Linked DNA regions of Homo sapiens: regions 1 and 2 are each linked to region 3. Evidence: promoter capture Hi-C in human tissues and cell types (Jung and others, 2019). All regions are on one chromosome and are shown on one strand. The core of a region is centred on a gene start or on the middle of the fragment in contact, and the rest is flanking DNA. Distances in the headings are between cores, read along the strand shown.

What was found. The method cuts DNA at HindIII sites, captures the fragments that hold promoters and counts their contacts. A contact is called where the count stands out against the background at its distance.
Region 1: a fragment that was not itself captured here is called in contact with the fragment with the promoter of BRINP3 in region 3 in 2 of the 25 tissues and cell types used here (dorsolateral prefrontal cortex and hippocampus).
Region 2: a fragment that was not itself captured here is called in contact with the fragment with the promoter of BRINP3 in region 3 in 3 of the 25 tissues and cell types used here (IMR-90 fibroblasts, aorta and hippocampus).

The regions. Positions count from the first base shown.
Region 1 is chr1:190,431,507-190,434,206 of GRCh38, forward strand. The region is part of intron 2 of BRINP3 (BMP/retinoic acid inducible neural specific 3); the gene reads right to left. Among named protein-coding and RNA genes, the nearest start is that of BRINP3, 45 kb to the right of the region's middle. The HindIII fragment of the contact is 5,643 bases long and covers 1-2,700 here.
Region 2 is chr1:190,519,559-190,522,258 of GRCh38, forward strand. No RefSeq gene overlaps it. Among named protein-coding and RNA genes, the nearest start is that of BRINP3-DT, 43 kb to the left of the region's middle. The HindIII fragment of the contact is 4,269 bases long and covers 1-2,700 here.
Region 3 is chr1:190,476,579-190,479,278 of GRCh38, forward strand. It overlaps BRINP3 (BMP/retinoic acid inducible neural specific 3), which reads right to left and starts at 1,286. Exons shown (of 8, transcript NM_199051.3): 1 at 870-1,286. BRINP3-DT (BRINP3 divergent transcript) reads left to right here and starts at 1,682. Exons shown (of 3, transcript NR_110716.1): 1 at 1,682-1,914; 2 at 2,504-2,562. The HindIII fragment of the contact is 15,526 bases long and covers 1-2,700 here.

The sequences.
Region 1 (2,700 bases), core at 19-2,518, 45 kb before region 3:
CTTCCATGCCCAGATAATTTTTGTATTTTTAGTAGAGATGGGGTTTTACTATGATGGCCAGGCTGGTGTCAAACTCCTGACCTCAAGTGATCTGCCAGCCTCGGCCTCTCAAAGTGCTGGGATTACAGGTGTGAGCCTGGCCTTCTTTATTTTAAAATAATCATATTAATAAATTATTAAACTGAAAAATGTGAAGATTTCACTTCAAATGAAAAAAATCCCTGGGGAAAATGAACACACACATGCTCAGAAACCGTAGAAGTAAACCACAGTTTTTTTAAAGAGAATTTTCTGCTGTGTCACTGTATTTGTTTTTCTGCCAGATAATGCAAATGATATCAATATTAGTCTGCAATATGATGCATTTTATTTGAAAATGTTATTCAAAAGCTTATCTCTAATGCTGAAATAATTCATAAGAAAAAATTGTTTCTAAACTTACGACCTCTAATGTACATTTATTTCACTCCAAAATAAGAACCAAATAATGCTATTAAAAGGACTATACTAAAGGTACTAGGAGAACACCGTTAACAAACATGTTCATATATATACACAAATAGGAAAAATGGTGCATTAGAAATAAACAAAACTGCAAAAAACAAATATGTAAATCCCTGATAATTTTTATAAAACATAATCTTTCTATCCATACTTTACTACTGCCTTCATTCACATGAGTCAAATTATGGCCCAGTAAATATAGCTTTCTTACCTAAAAAACAGAAATTGCATCTTCAACACAACAGTGCAGTCATGAAATTCTACTCCAATTGAAAACAATGCAATTTCTGGTTGCCATTTAGAGGTATATTTCTTCTATTTCTAAAATAAGTTAGTTTAAGGGCCATAACATGCAGCTGGCAACTTATTTGTTCAAAATTTTCCACTCACCCTTGAGCCATTAAAGAATGGTGATATTCAGAGGCCATATCACACAATACAAAAGTGAAATCCATGATTTTAAATTATTAAGCTTTAACCATCTATCCATCTGAAATTTCCATCCTCTAAGGCACCATGTGTGTTTTAGTGTCTATAATTTCAGCATAAAAGAACATGGCATTTCGGGGCTGATACTTTTTGAACAAGATAAGAACTCTCTGCTTTTGCCTATCGTTCTACTGCCACGTTAAGAGGTGGGACTGAATTAAAGCTTCTGAGTCTACAGGACTAAATAGAGGCATGATCCTGTTTTCATGTTTCTCAGCTGAATACTAATTTAATCCATCTGTGGAAATTTGTGCATTTGCCATTAGAACAAACAAAATAATGGATCTGGTACAGTTTAGGATTAACCATCCAGAAGCTGAAATTTACCTAAAATTCACACTTAATGGTCATATATGTTATTTGGGACTGTAGCAAAAGATTAGTTGTCTGTATCCATCAATTATAAACATAGTCTATGTTTGCTTTTAATTTTTATGAAAAATACATAGTTTATAAGATGTTTCATAAACATATATCAATTATAGTGTTAAATTTATTGAAAAGAAATAGAGACCAAAAAAATCTATTTTAGAATACATTGTTTCATTAACCTAGTTATCATTAACGAACTGAGTAGTTCGGAATATTGTTCCAAATTAGAATTAAAGAAGGTGGAAGTTTTTAGTTTTGTTTTATGGACCCCTGTCCACATCTTCACCTACTTTTCATAGACCACTGCAAATATTGCAACTGCTCTCTTCTTTCTGCTATTATTTGCTCTGTAATCCATTCTCTTCAGACTGTCAAGGAACCTTTTAAGAAGTATACAGATCAATCAATTATACTCTGATTATAAACTTTCAATGATCTCCCACTGCATTTGGAATAATACCTGAACTTAACTGTGGCATTGAAAGCCTCTACGATCTACTTTCTGGGTTCTTATTAACCTCATCTAAGATTAACACCCTCTAACATCATGTTACTTGTCTTCCAAGTCCTTTTTCTGATGAGTGATTCTGCTATTTTCTTTGCCTGGAATGTGTTTTCTTCCCTTTCAGCATTTATATGGCCCAACCTCATATTCCAGGCCTCAGTTCAGTATCACCTTTTCAGAGATACCATCTCTTACTATAACCCTTTTTAGACCCATTTCTATTCCTATTACTTCCCTTCTGTTTTCCCCTTTCAGTTCTCCTTATTCCCCTAGCAGCAATGGTCACAATCTGAAATTATTATGCTATCTACCTATCTACCTCGTTCCATTGTCTTCTGACCTGCAATTTTCTGAAAAGTAGAAATCAATCTTGTAATTGCTCCTTCATATACTTTTTAATTTTTGTTTACAATATAAAGGCTATAAGTTTTGGTCATGCTAATTAACATGTTAAATTTTTGCCACTTATAAAGGTGAGAAAAAGATGTGTGTGCTGTAAAAAGTTGAATTATATGTGTTCTTGAGCATTTCTAGTCTGCTAAAATATGAGCTACAGAAAGTTCTCTATTATCCCCACCCCGGTTTTCTGCGAAATTAGTTACTTTGGTTAAAAATTATAACTAATATGAGTAGTAAAGACCACACTAGGAGTAATATTGACAGAGTAAAATAACCATGTCTTTTTGTTTTACCAGCAAACATTAGTTTCACCTAAAGAAATGGTTATTTATTTATTTATTTTTATTTATTTATTTATTTTGAGATGAAGTCTTGTTCCCTCACCCAGGCTGAAGTGCAGTGGCCAGATCTCGACTCACTGCAGCCTCCGC
Region 2 (2,700 bases), core at 183-2,682, 43 kb after region 3:
TTTCTATGTTTATATATGTTTAGATACACAAATACCCTTGTGTTACAATTGCCTGCAGTATTCAGTACAATAACAGGATGTAGGCCGGGTGCGGTGGCTCACGCCTGTAATCCCAGCACTTTGGGCGGCCGAGGTGGGCAGATCATGAGGTCAGGAAATCGAGACAATCCTGCCTAATATGGTGAAACCCGTCTCTACTAAAAATGCAAAAAATTAGCCGGGAGTGGTGGTGGGAGCCTGTAGTCCCAGCTACTTGGGAGTCCCTGAGGCAGGAGAATGGCATGAACGCGGGAGGCGGAGCTTGCAATGAGCTGAGATCGCGCCACTGTACTCCAGCCTGGGTGACAGAGCGAGACTCTGTCTCAAACAAAACAAAACAAAACAAAAAAAACAGCTTGTAAAGGTCTGTAGCCTAGGAGCAACAGGTGTATACAGCCTAGGTGTGTGATAGGCTATACCATCTAAGTCTGTGTAAGGACGCTCTATGAGGTTCGCACAACAAAGAAATTGCCTACCCACGCATTTCTCAGAATATATCTCTGTCATTAAGCAACACAAGACTGAACCGTTAATAAATTTTATATTTTCTGTAAATGTTGATATTCCTTTTCAAGTTTCAAAATGTTTTTTAAATGTTTCAAAATGTTTATTTTTATTTTAAACTCTGCTTTATGAATATTAGCTATTTATGATCTATGTTGGATTATTTCCAAATCTTGTCATAAAAATTTTGATTTTTAATATAGCATAAATATCTATTTTTTATTTATTGCTTGTAAGATAGGAAGATCTTCCTTATCCTCATATTGTACATGTAGTCTCCTAGGTGTCCTTATAAATTTTAATTATTAATACTGTAAGTAATTATGGATTTTTTCAAAAATTATAGTGTGAGATAGGAATTTGCCTTTACTTTCTTCTTGATTGGCACCCACTAATCACATGTATCAACTAAAACTTTTTAAATTTCACTTAAAATTCCACCTTCATCATTAATTAAAATATATTAATATATATTCCTAGATTATGAGTAATCTTTCTTATATCTATACAAAAATATAATGATTTGATTACAGTGGCTTAGATTTTGGTATGTGATGTTGCAAGTCTCTATACATTTTTTGGCTGTTTTTGAGTATTTAATTGTCCATAGCTTAAATTAAAAGAAAAATTTGGGATTATGTGTTTAAATCCATTAAACTTATCATTTTTCTTCTTCTCTTATTTTAAGCCCTGGTGACTTATCCTGAATCCTCCATAAAAAAAAAAAAAAAAAAAAGAACCTAAGAAAAGAATCAAAGAAAGGGTATCTTATTATAAGGTGCAAAAATGAGGTAATAAGAATAGAAGGAAACCAATAGGGGCAAGAAAGTTATGCTGCAATGGAAATAATGCATTGCCATGTTAGCAACTGATTTTACACAAGTCTGAAACAAATAGAGCAAGCTATTCCAACAGCTCTTACTGGACACTTGGGACTTCTCCTAAAAATCTTCAAGGAGAAACTCTTTCTCATTGCAGCACAAAGTAAATGGATTAAGGCATATTTATCTGCCTGGCTCCTACTTGCCCTTCCTCTCCTTCTCCAAGGTTTTTTCCATAAGCTCCCAATTTTACCATCCTCTCAGATTGTCTCATCCAGCCTCTCCAGCAACCATGTTAGATCATAAACCCTATAACCTACAGTGTGATTCTGCATCCAAGTCTTCAGTGGGAAGATGAACCAGAAACTCCAGGCATACAGCTGATTAGTCTAGCTATGAACTGGTAGTGAAAAAGAGTCTGGTTCTCCCACTCTACATAAGTATTCAGCCTCTAATTGTAGCAGCAGGGTTCTGGGAAACAGAGGCAGTTTAAAAAATACGAATAGACACATACTCTTTGTTCTGATAAAAGTGGATTCCTAAAATAAATCAGAGAGTTATCCATCTTTTTCTCTAAAATACATATTTTGGGCCATAGAAATATCTATAATCCAAAATGGCTGCTGGAGAGGCTAAAGTATATGTGTGTGTGTGTGTGTGTGTGTGTGTATGCATGTGTGTGTATAAAATATATAAACATATATTTAAGACATATACACATATACACAAATGTATACATGTATACATATCCTACACACATATAAAATATGTGTATATATTTTATACACACATAAAATATGTGTATATATGTTATGCACACATAAATATACATATATATTTTATACACAAATATATATCTCTGTTATTTATAGAATAGATTGAATGCAGTGGAAAAGTTTTTGTTTTACATAGACATTAGACTAGATAGATATTAGACTATTTAGAAACATCTAAATAGTTATTTAGATACAGCCTTATTTGAAGAACGTGACCTAGATAGAACAATATCTTAATTCCTTTTCTAATACGCTTAAGAGTTTTATGAATTACCAGTCTAAAATAATGTTATAACCACTTGAAGAGTAACTACAGATGATTACATTAACAATAAAAAATTAAATTTATTTCCAGACACTGGAGAAATTTCAGTGGAAAGATTTGTGTTCATTTTGAAAGTTAGGATAGAGCTAATTTAATAGGTGTATATTAAAATGTCTAATCAATCTTAGTATTTCAAAGAAAAATTGTAGAAACATATTTCTAGAATTTAATTGGCTGACTTATCACTATTTTTAGTAGTAGTTCACAAAACTCTCTTTCCTACAATGATTTCTTA
Region 3 (2,700 bases), core at 36-2,535:
ATATTAACATGCCTATTAAACACAAGGGTTGGGGGCAGACAAGTATGAAGAGTGAGGCAATTAAATTTTTCATGTAAAGTCTATTCTTGAATTTCAATTTATCAGAACCAAGATAATCAGGGGTTTCTTCTGATTGCTCCTCTCTGAAATGAGTACTCTGTGTCCAATTAACTGTTCACCAGCTAATTCACAAAATCAGAAATGTACTGACAAATACTATGCCTGAATTAAAATACAATGCCTAAAATAACGTGCTTATGTGTGATTTGAAATATTTTAAGAAAAAAAAATGGTGCCCTCAAAACTCACAGTCCTCTTCCTACCATTCAGTGGCATTTTAGTGCTTAAGGTCTTGCTAAATTCATAAAAATACACTTTGCAACAAAGTCTTCCTTCAGTCATGTAATTGCTTATCATGAACAAATGCTGACCTGAACAACCTTCTGAATATCCGACTAGCGAACTTTCCAGACCTTGCAATTGTCAGAAGGTCTCTTTTAAGCTCTCTCTTAGATAAACCTATAAAATGTGACATTTCAAATGGCACAGGAATGTGTGCCAAGAAGGGTTAATGGGGGTGGGGGCGATTAATGTCCGTGTAACCCATAATATAAATGAGGACAAATATTTTAAAAATAAAGAAGGTAAAAGATATTGGGGTAATACATGGGATATTGGGGTAATACATTACATGGGTTATGTCTTAGCAGTGCAGTTGCCACTAACATACTAATTAATAAATATGGCCATATGGATCTTTCAGTTCTGAAAGTAACAAAAATGTGAAAAATGAAATACTTCAACAAAACAGAGCTTATTAAAAATAGCAATAGTTAAGTTTCTAGTAACAGATAAAGAGAATAACTTACCAGAGGAAATTTCAGGAAGCAAGAAGACTGTGAGAAAAATACATCCAGGATTCAAATAGATATTCCATGATCTTCCAAATCAAGGTAAAGTAGTGAGCTGCAGGGTAGTAGGACTTTAAAATAATCAGCAGTTCCTGGTGGCATGTAACCAAGTAAAAACCAGTTACACAGAGAGCCACGAACCCCCAAGGCAAGAAAGCAGAATGTGAAAATGCTTTATATGGGGGGGTGGGGAATGGTGGGGGGTGATTCGTGGTGATCCTTAAGCAAAGTGAAAATTTACAGGCTGCACATCCCCATACAGTGGGGAAAGGCAGAAGCTGTGTAACCCCAGAGAACAGGAGGTGGAATACAGATAAATCTGCAAAGAGAAGTAAAAGGATGTGTTGAAGACAACGAGATAAAGAGAGAACTAGTGAGCAAGGCTGTAGTCATCCTGATAGATATAGCAGCAAGAATGATTTAGGCTGCTGGGGAGGATCCAATGAGAATTCAAGAGGGCACCACTTCGGAAATCCTGCTCTGATCTTCCCACTCTCAGTTCTTTAAGAGTTACCTGCGTTGGGACCATTATCATTAGGATTAATAGTATTCCATCAGTGCATTTCACTAGTATTTCCCTTGAACATTTTCACTTGCAGCAACTGAGGGAGGCGTAGTAAGGAAGCCCAACACAACCAATTCCCCCACTCCCCAAATAAACCACTACGACCGGTCACATTACGATGACCAAATCATCAGCGATTTGCACGAGGCGGTGGGGGGTGGGGGGTGCGGGCGGTGATCGAAGGGCTGAAGATGCGGAGGAGGCCGAGTCGCTAGGCGCTTTCGGGGGCGCTGTGCCGGTGAGGCTTAGGCAAGGGGACGGGGAACCGTGGTTAGATGCAGCAGCGGCGGCAGCAGCCCTCCCAGGTCCCACTTCTTTGGCGTTCCTGCTGCCTGTGACTCAAGACAATTGACTTCCACCTGAACCCTCAGCTCCGAACGCCTTGCATTAGAAGCTAGAGCTTTGGAGGTTCTGAGGACGGTCCCTGGGGAGCAAGTGGTAGGTTTCGAGGCGCCCGCTTCCCCTCTGATTCCTGCAGTAACTGAGAGAGAGTGTGCCAGAAATGGCTTTGCTGCCGAATGCATTATCTTGCCATTTTCGTGTCCCAATACTGAACAAACGATCGCCTGATCGATCGGTAAGATTAGCTTTATTCCTTCTCCCTATTCCTCTCCTTGGCCCCATTCCCTCTGCAAGTCCAAACCCCAGTCTCTCTCTCTCTCTCTCTCTCCCTCCCTCTCTCTCTCTCTCTCTCTCTCTCCAGGAACTTCTTCCTCTTTGAAACCGGTTTCCCAAGGGAACTGCCTGTGTGACTGAGAGGCTAGTAATCTGTTTGTAGATGATTTATATTTTGGCTGCAGAATGAATCCCCCTCCCTACTCGGAGTACTCTCCTTAGAGATGATCCCCCGCCCCCTCCCCATGGGTTCGCTCTCAGAGCTGGGATCTGTATAAAGAGCGCTGTGGGAGTCTTTTGCCCTCCGCTCTAGCTCTATCTTCCTCCGGACCCCGAAGCTTAAGAATTATCCGCCTCACTCTCTTTTTTAGAAATAGGAGGGAAAGGTAGAGTGGAAATTGATTTCTTGCAGAGACTGAGGCGCTGAATGATAGAGGGAATAAACATTTGCCCTGGATAAAAATGTTCTTGGTAAGTAATCTTATTTTCTGCGGTTGAAAAAGAAACAGATTGCTTCTCACTGCCCCATCCCCCACTCCATTCATTTATTTGCTCTCTGTATGTAAATCACGAGCTGGGTCAGTGGAAATTTTTTTTTCCTCTTCCCTA